2 separate regions of the Homo sapiens genome follow, and region 2 is linked to region 1. The links are contacts of gene promoters, found by promoter capture Hi-C in blood cells and fetal thymus (Javierre and others, 2016). All regions are on one chromosome and are shown on one strand. Each heading gives the region's core, a stretch centred on a gene start or on the middle of the fragment in contact. The rest is flanking DNA. Distances are from core to core; before and after follow the strand shown.

Region 1 (4,811 bases), core at 1,669-4,168:
GGGATTACAGGCGTGAGCCACCGCACCTGGCCAACGTATTTTTTGTTTGAGAGGGAGTCTCACTCTGTTGCCCAGCTGGAGTGCAGTGGTGTGATCTCAGCTCACTGCAACCTCTGCCTCCCAGGTTCAAGCAATTCTCCTGCCTCAGCCTCATGAGTAGCTGGGACTACAGGCATGCACCATCACACCTGGCTAATTTTTGTATTTTTAGCAGAGACAGGGTTTTGCCATGTTGGCCAGGCTGGTCTCGAACTCCTGACCTCAGGTGATCCACCCGCCCTGGCCTCTCAAAGTGCTGGGATTACTGGCATGAGCCACCGCGCCCAGCTGCTACAATGTATTTTAATTCTGTTTTTGATGTATTTAATCTGTTTTCTTTGACTGCTCACAAAATCCCTCAGAGGTACTAGTGGTTGTCCCCCTTTTCTAGATGGGGACAGCTAGGCTTACAGTGTTGCGGCCACTTGTTTGAGGTCACCTCCCAAACAGGTCACTGGGCTGGGGTTCGTGCCATGATCAGCCCCTCCACGATCAGCCATCTCATTTTACTGTGTCTCCACCAATTCTCCAAGGCTTCAGCACCCACTGTGCGTGAGAAACCACGCTAAGCATTTGTGCACAGACCACCCCATTTGATCCTTCAAGATGGGATCGTGTTCCCATTGCTTGGATGAGAAAACTGAGGCCAGATTGTAAACGGTCAGATCAGGGTCACCCCACCAGGAAGAAAAACAAAGTAGGCTCTGCAAACGTGGCTGCTGCACTGGCCGCTGGGAAACTCCAAGCTTAAATTAGGTTCCTTGTTAAATTATTCATTATCTCCTCTCTTTTCTCCTGTTTATGACTTCCGCCTTATCGTTTTGTTCCCCGGGTTAATGCTTTTTGTTTATCTGCATCTGTGGCCTGGAATGAATGAATCAACAATTTTGGAGGAAAAAAAAAACCAATTCTAAAGTTGAGTTCCTCTGTTGGGCACCAGGCCTTCTCCAAATATGTGCCTTGAGGAAATAAATGCTTTCGACATGATCAAAACACAAGGACTGATGTGCAATCTTGCTTGGTGGCTGTGAGCCCTCCAACCCCCTTACCTTTGTCAATATCCCCCTTTTATTTACTTCCGCTCTGTTTTTTTTCCTTATTTTTGAGAGTCTCACTCTGTCGCCCAGGCTAGAGTGTGCAGTGGTGTGATATTGGTTCACTGCAACCTCCGCCTCCCGGGTTCAAGAGTTTCTCCTGCCTCAGCCTCCCAACTAGCTGAGACTACAGGCACCTGCCACCACGCTCGGCTAATTTTTGTATTTTTAGTAGAGATGGGGTTTCGCCATGTCGGCCAGCCTGGTCTCGAACTCCTGACAAGTGATCTGCCCACCTTGGCTTCCCAAAGTGCTGGGATTACAGGCATGAGTCACCGGGCCCGGCCTCTTTTCTCTTATTATTCCATCTTCAGGCACCAATGGCAGCCAGGCTGCCACATTATAGCAATTCATCATCACACCCTCCTTAGGAGCAGGGGCTACCTTGCCCCATTTTACAGATGAGAGCTGAGATCCAGAGGCAAATCCATTCTACAGATGGGGAAAGTGAGGCTCCGGGCCTCACACAGCAAATCAGTGTTTTAGCTGGGTTCCAACTGTGGCTCGTCCTGACTCCAGGGAAGCAGGGGATGGTAATTAGGTGAGACCTGTGTAAAGTGCTTACTCTATAAGAAGTGCTCCATCATCCATTCATTCATGTGTTCAACCTACAATAGGGATCTCTGGAGCCACACTGTAGTGTAACTAGAATAAAAACGGGATAATGGGACCAGGCGCGGTGGCTCACGCCTGTAATCCCAGCACTTTGGGAGGCCGAGGTGGACGGATCACTGAGGTCAGGAGTTCAAGACCAGCCTGGCCAACATGGTGAAACACTGTCTCTAACAAAAATACAAAAATTAGCCAGGCGTGGTGACAGCACGCCTGTAATTCCAGCTACTCCGGAGGCTGAGACAGGAGAATAGCTTGAATCCAGGAGGCGGAGGTTACAGTGAGCCGCGATCACGCCACTGCATTCCAGCCTGGGCGACAGAGTGAGACTCCGACTCAAAACCAAACAAACAACAACAACAACAACAAACCGGGATAATGGGATAGAGTGGAGTGGGGCGTGGCTGGTAGCTGTTGTCAGGGAGGGCTTCTCCCAGGCGCTGCTTATTTGAGCAGAAATTGGAAAGATGAGAAGGGGAAGTTCTTGGATGCTCAAGTTAGAGGAACTGTAAGAAGCTGGCTGAGGCGGGAGGATCACCCGAGCCCAACTACTCAGGAGGCTGAGGCGGGAGGATCACCTGAGCCCAGGAGTTTGAAGCTGCAGTGAGCTATGATCATACCACTGTACTGAGGCCCAGGTGGCAGACCCCATCTCTGAAAAAGCAAAGAAGGAGCAGCTGGTTTTTCTGGATCATTGACATGGTGGGGGGGAGGGGACAGGGTAGTGGGCGCTAATGTGAAACGGCGAGCTGCAGAGAGGAGGCGGGATTTTATTCCAAGGGTACTGGGGAGCCGTGGCACAGTTTAGGGCAGCGCACAGAAAGTGCCATGCCCTTTGCACCCAGGACGCTGGGGCTCCCGCACGGACAGTAGCCCCAGGGGCCCTTCCCGCCGCCGCCGCAGCCGCCACCACCACCACCACCCCAGCCGCCCACGTGTCCCGCGAAGCCCCGCGCCCCACGTGCTCCCGCGGCCCTTTAAACACCCCGGAGCCACGTGACCGCGCTGCGCCGTCCCATTGGCCGGGGGGCGTGGCGGCCGCGCGGCTGCGCAGTGACGCGCACGGGCCGGCCCTGCCCCCGACCCGGCGGCGGCGGCGGCGGCGCTGGCGGAAGGGATGACGTCACCGGCTGGGGGGGCGCGCGAGCGGGAGCTAGGGGAGCGCGAGCCGCAGTGAGTGTCCTCGCGCCGCCCGCCCGGCAGCCCGGCCGGCGCGCGCACGCCGCGAGCCGCTGGCGCTCGGGCTCCGCTCGGATCCCATGCAACAGCCACGATGTGAAGCGGGGCAGAGCCGGGGGAGCCCAGCCCAGCCAGCCTCCAGGTAAAGCCAAAAAAAAAAATAAAATCATGGATTAGAGGAAAAAAAAATGCAGGCGCTCCAAGGGGGGTCTCGGAGGCAGCCGAGTGGGCAGCGCGCCGGCTTTGTGCCGGGGAAGCCTGCACGGCCATTGTGCTCGGAGGATGCTCGGCTGCAGCCAGTTGCACGCCCAGCCGCTGCGCCCCGGTAGCTGCGCCCGGACAATGCCCCGAGGGACAGGGCCGGGGCCGCGCTGGGGGCGCTCGGCAGGGGGTGCTGGGGGGGCTTCGTCCGCGGCGTGGGAGGGGGCTGGGCTGGAAGCGCCCAGAGCGCGGCATTGGAAGCTGCCCAGCGCCGCCGGCTGCACCACCCCGGGCTGCGGGCGGGGCAGAGGCGCGGAGGGGGGCGCGCGTGTGTGCGGAGCCGGTGCCGGCCCCGGCGGCGCCCGGCCCGGGTCCCCGGGCGGGTCCTGGAGGCAGGGGGCGCTGTGCCGGGGGATGGGGGGCATGCGGGCGCCCCGGAGCGGAGAGGAGCCGGGACGGGTGGCTCCAGGCGGGGTGGCTCCAGGGCTGCTGCGCCCGCCGCCTTCCCTCTCCGGGTCTCCCTCCCCTGGAGACCCCCTAGTCTACGCCGTCTCCCCTGGAACACTCCGGGCCCTGTCGTTGCCTTATGGGAGGTCGCCCCTCCGGCACTCGGGCATTGCCCCACCCTTCTGCGGCCTCGGCGCCCCCTTCCAGCCTCCCCACCCAGGGGCGAGCCTCAGCCCCCAGCCCCAGGGGCTCTGGCAGGCAGACGCGCACGCCCAGCACCCCAGTCTCCCCTCCGCGCTGGGGGCCCCGTGGGGATCCCGAGAGTGGGGAAGCCGCCCCTGGAACCGCCAGCCCCGCGGGTTCCGCACGCCCCGGGAGCCCCCGGGGGCTGCGGGGGGAGGGGAGGTGACGTCATACCGGGGGCGGGGCCGTCGGCACTGGGTTAAAGGGGGCGCGGGGCGTGCCCTGAGGGGAGCCCCCCAGGTTAGAGTGCCCGCGCCGTGGGTGCGAGGGTTCGGCCAGGTTGCGGCCAAGTTCACCTCTCTTTATGGGAATCTCTCCTAAAATTAAGATCCTCCCCTTCGGACCTCCCCCTACAAATCCTGGACATTTCCCACCAATTCCCCCCCTTCCCAAATTGGGGAACTCCCCTTCGGCCGCTTTCTCTCCAGAATCCTCAAATCAGGGAACCTTTCCCACAAACTGGGAATCTTTTTTTCAGCCACACCCCCCGCCCCAAATCTGGGACCTCCTTCTTCGGTTGACCCTCTTTCCCCAGTCTCAAATCGTCTTCTCGTCTCCCTAAATATGCAGCTTCCAAGAACGCCCCTTCCTCTGCAACCCTTCCTCAAATCCAGCCACCTCCTGGGACCTCATTCCCCCAAATTAACAAACCTCCCAGAGCCTCATTGGGGGTGCCTTGCCTCCCCCTTCTGGGCTCAGCTGGGATTCCCCTGTCCCCCCCCGTCACAATCTAGGGGAGCCCCCTTCTGAGCATGGGGTCCTCCTGCCTCTGGCCGAGACCCTAAAAACACATCCCGGCAGCCGCGGCTAGTGAAGCGGGTGTCCGAGGTGTCGGAGTCCCGGCTGAGCAGCAGGGATGATACCTAGAAGCCGGAGGAGGCAGGAAGAGACCCCTAGGGTCCCAAGGACAGGGACCCACACGCTCCGGGCTCCCGTCCGCCACCACCCGGACTTTGGCTGCTGGGATTCTGGCCTCCTCTGGGTGGCCCCCTATCG
Region 2 (4,811 bases), core at 1,286-3,785, 260 kb after region 1:
CCAGACCCAAGGTTTCCCAACAGCCACCCCAAGGTCTGGAAGAAAAGGCAGGGCTGCCTACCAGGGCTGGGGGGCTACAGCCTTGTGCCCTAGGAACCCTCCCCACTCTGGGGACACTCGAGATGGCCACACTGACCCCCACTCCCTGCTCACTGCTAAGCCCGTTGATAAAGCCTTTGAAAGACGACCATCCAGAAAGATCAACAACAAATTTGGAGTGATGGCTCCCACCTGCTGCACCCCGGGGCTCAGGCCAAGGGCTTCTAGGAGGTGGGGCTGTGGGCCCAATCCACAGACGTGGAAACTGAGGCTCATGAACTAGAATCCTTGAAGTCAAGTGGGCTCCTCATCTTTATTTAACATCCAGTAAAACGCAGGGATCACAGGCTGCTCGGAGTTCTGGGCGTAACCACTGATCCAGACAGGAACAAAACATGCCGGGCCCCCAGGCACCCCTCCTACCAGCCCTCTACCAGGCCATCCCCACCGAACCACGCACGCGCTCTCAGTCACCACAGACCTCGTTCCCTCCTAGTGGTTCACATGAATGGCGTTGTACGGCAGGGACACGTGCCTGTTGTCTTCCACCTGGCGTGCGTTTCTGAGATTTGTTCCCACTGTCCTGTGCACCAGGCGACCGCTCCTTTTCATTTCTAAACAGTACTCGGTTGCGCGTGGATCTATGGTTATTTATTTATCTATCCTCCTGTTGATGGACGTGCGGGCTGTTTCCAGTTTGGGGCTCTCGTGAAGAAAACTGCTAAGAACACTTATGTACCAATCTTTCTGGAGACATATGTTTTCATTTCTCCTGAGTAAATATGCACAGAGTGGCATCGCTGGGGCACAGGGTACATGCTTCCGTTTCCAAGAAAATGCCGAACGGTTTTCCATGGCCATGGCACCGCCCTGCATCCACCCCGGCTGGGAGCAGCGTGCAGCTGCGCCCTCCTCACTGGCATCTGGTGGCGGTGTTCTGACGTGGCCGTCCTGGGGCTGGCGGTGTCTCCCAGCTGGCTGCCTCTGACTTCTACCGATGCTGGGCACTGAACCATGGCTTTCGTTCCTGCAGCTCCTTCGTAACGCGTCTGCTCAAGCCCCTCACGCCGAATTCATCGGGCCATTTGTTTTCTTATCTCTGATTTGTAGGAGTTCTCAGGCCTGCTGATCATTATATATTCCCCCAGAAAGATGAGCAGAGATTGCTGGATACACTGAAGTCGCCAATAAGCCATCAGAACTGGTGAGGCTTTCAGAAGCCAGCCACGGCGTCAGACATCAATCAAAACTGACACAGCTTGGAAAAATGCCAGTCCTTAAGAACACTGTGATATTTTTCTTTTCAAATAATTAATTGCACCAATCAAGGGAAGTCAGTGTGCATTAAGTTATATTTTTAAATTCCCATTCAAGTGACAGCCACGTGCAGCAGAACGAGCACGCGGCAGAAAATAGGGGTGGGGGGGGAACACACGTGGCCCCAGGGCCTGGCCCCCGCCGTGCAGGACATGGGGTCCCCAAGGGCTGGCCCTCACTGTGCAGGACGTGGGGTTCTCTGGGCCAGCTTCTCCCCACTACGCTGGGAGCTCCGTGAAATGAGGGGCAAATAAAATTAAGGTTTGGGGCTTTTTAAAAAAAAACCTAATTACTGGGCCGGGCATGGTGCTCACACCTGTAATCCCAGCATTTTGGGAGGCCAAGACAAGAGAAACACTTATGCCCAGGAGCTTGAGACCAGCCTGGACAACAGAGTGAGACCCCATCTCTAGAAAAAAAGAAAAGTTAAGAAAGTAAAGTAAATGCCATTACTGATTCCTTTATCCTATTTGAGCCGGCTTCGGAAAGGCTTTTCCCTGACCACCTGCTCTAAGGCCAAGTGACGGCTCCCTGTCTCTCCCCTGGAGAACCAGGCCTGCAGGCATGCGTCAGGCAGACATCAGACTCAGAGCCTTCAGGGATCCAGCTGGGCCCCCGGAATGCCAAGATTGAATGGGGGTGATGGCAGCAGAGAGCCAAGCTCTCACAGTGTAAGGACCTCACTCCCCCAGCCCTCCTATGAACCAAGGCCTAGAAGAGAAAATGTGCTCGGTTAGGACAAGAAGATTATGTTCCTGCGAGAAAACCTGCATCCTGGTGGCTTCGTTCCACACTCACGGTGTCTGTCCCCTGTGTCACTGCTGTCAACATTATCCAACAATCAATTAGAAGGCGTTGGGATGATGAATAGGCTTTGCGGCAAAGTCATCAGTGGTGACAGGACGCGGCCCCAGACACCAGGCACGGAGAAAGCCCGGAACTCGGTTTCCTCTGCGAGCTCTTGCAGAATAAATGAGGGAGTCAATGGCAGATTACAGAAGTACACACTTTTAATTATTAAAAAGCTCTGCTATTGATCGGCTTTTTCTCCTAGAAGTAAATACCATTACAAAGATTTATAAGGGGAGTGTGGGGAGTCACTTGTTTGAAGGCTGCCAGGAATTCAGATGAGGGGACCCACGCTGCTGTCTGGAAGGGACGTTCATCTCAAGCCCATGGCGTCTGAGAGGCTGAAGGACGGTCCCCAGGCCGGGCGGCACAGGGTGCTGTTCGCTGCAGTGGGACAGGGGCCTTCACTGTGGCAGCCTCTGGAGAAACTGGCGCCCGGCCCCAGCAACCAGCTGGCGGTGTTGGGGAGCGCAGCCGTACTGCCTGGACCCCGCCTGCTACCATGCATGGTGCCAGCAGCCGCTCTGAGGCTGGTGGTGAGCCACCTTTGGCTCAGGTTCAGGAACTTTACAGATAAACTGCAGTGCGATACAGATGCTGACCTGGGAGTCCAGGCCACTCACTGCCTGCCCACCCCTTCGATGGGCACCCCCCTCCAGGAAGCACCACTTTGGAGAAGGTTTTAGACAAACCAGCCAGAAAATCAGTACTTCTCACTTCCCTGAGCAATGCCGTGATCTGTCTGGTTTTGCTGGTACTGAATGATGTTCCAACCAGAAGACGGGGGAGAAGAGGAAAGGCCGGAAATGCGCACTTCTCCGAGCGAGATCTGTGCTGTCTGATGAATGCCTGCAGCGGCTGGGAGGCGGCCTCTGGGTTGCAGCCCCGCCAGGAAGAGCGGATCCCCGATGTGTGAGCTGATGCTTTGGCGGTTTGATTGAAATGTCACAAGCAATTTCCGGCTGGCTGACACTCAGGGCCTCACCACAGAGCACGCTCCCGAGCCTGCACATCACTCTTCCCGTGGAACCTCATGAGCTGGGCTGCGGCCCAGACCTGCCTTGCAGGTTCTTGGCACGTGCCTCTCACCTGGACAGAGCTGGGGACACAGGCCTAGACTCTCCCATGGACAAAGGCTTCTCCATGGGGAAGGAACTGCCTCGAGTGGGTGCAGTTGCTGAGCTGGACCCTGAGCACAGCCTGCTCTGCTCCTGGGACACCAAACCCCAGCTGTCCATCAAATCAGGTGTAGGGAGGCCCCACCCCCCGGCCTCAGGTCTCCTCCATCACAGCCTCCACCAGCAGCCCCTGAAGCAGTGAACTGAATGAGTTCACAGTCTTCACGGTGCAGGAGAGCCCGAAATGTCACTTCTAAACAGGCAGTTCTCTCCACGGCCGGGTGACATGGGCCGTGGGGGTGCCTGAGACTTAGGGTGTGGCCTGGGGCGGTAGGAACCAGGTTCCCACCTTGCACGGGACGAGGGGCCCTGCCCTCTGTTTCTTTGGCAGCTTCCTGCCAGGTCAGCAGGGCCTGCCCCTGCCCTTCCACCCCTGCAGCCCCTGCGGAGGGGCCTCTGATGGCCACACCCAGGAGGAAGTTTTGGTTTGGTTTGGGAGGGGAGGTTAACACCCCGCCAGATTCAAGCTCTGCCATCTTCGCTTCCCCGTGGAAGAGCTGGAGGCTAACTGCTGAGCCATGCGGCCCTCCTCTGGCATGCTAATCACTGTTCTAGAAACTTCTCCAGGGTTAAACAGCTTATCTCCTGGGGTATGTGCGGCCACCTGGGCTTGGACCCGGTACCCACTTCACCCACAGGCGTGCAGGCCCCACCCGTACGCACCCGGCTGAAGGGGATCCCGTACTTCTTCAGGATGATGGGCGAGATGAGGGTCATCTTATGCCGCAGGAAGGCGTCGCAGCCCTGCGAGCTCCCGGGGAAGAAGCCTAGGGCCGAAAAGACAGACGTCAGTCTCCTGGGCCACAGCCGGCCGGGGTCAGCGAGGATGCTGCCCTCTGGGCAGGCTGGCTCTTTCCTCCCATGGAGAGCGGGCGTGTGGGAGCACAGAGCACGGCCCAGATCTGCCCTTGGTTCTCAGGGCCCCAGTGCCTGCAGGTCGGGGGGAAGGAGATGCGCAGGAGCCGCCCCATAGTGCCCTGCTGTGAGCTCTGCAGGTGGCAGACAGTGGTGACACCCTCTGGCCTCTGCGCAGTGACCATGTGAGCAGATGCCTGGTCTCGTCTCTGCCCAGCAGCAGGGGCAGCCAAGGGCCTCCTCACCAGGGGAAGGACCAGGGTTACTTGTGTGACAAGGTGCCCACCCATGGCATACACTTGGGTCCCTCACAGGGCACGGCTATGCAGAGACTTCTCCTCCGACCTCCCCAGACAAAATCCACCAGACCACAGCCCACACAGTCGCTCGGTCAATGAGAGAGCACGATCCTGGGGAGAGGACACGGTGTGGCCGCTCTCGTCACTCGGTCAACGAGACAACATGACCCTGGGGAAAGGACGCAGCGTGGCCGCTCTCGTCACTCGGTCAACGAGACAACACGACCCTGGGGAAAGGACACAGGGTGGCCGCCCTCGTCACTCGGTCAACGAG

What was found. The method cuts DNA at HindIII sites, captures the fragments that hold promoters and counts their contacts. A CHiCAGO score of 5 or more calls a contact.
Region 2: a fragment that was not itself captured here is called in contact with the fragment with the promoter of PTPRS in region 1 in 1 of 17 cell types (megakaryocytes); the score reaches 5.0 in megakaryocytes.

Annotation. Positions count from the first base shown.
Region 1 is chr19:5,338,919-5,343,729 of GRCh38, reverse strand. It overlaps PTPRS (protein tyrosine phosphatase receptor type S), which reads left to right and starts at 2,918. Exons shown (of 38, transcript NM_002850.4): 1 at 2,918-3,066. RefSeq lists a silencer at 2,711-2,990. The HindIII fragment of the contact is 5,182 bases long and covers 788-4,811 here.
Region 2 is chr19:5,076,706-5,081,516 of GRCh38, reverse strand. It overlaps KDM4B (lysine demethylase 4B), which reads right to left. Exons shown (of 23, transcript NM_015015.3): 8 at 4,047-4,150. Among named protein-coding and RNA genes, the nearest start is that of PTPRS-AS1, 99 kb to the left of the region's middle. The HindIII fragment of the contact is 7,055 bases long and covers 1-4,811 here.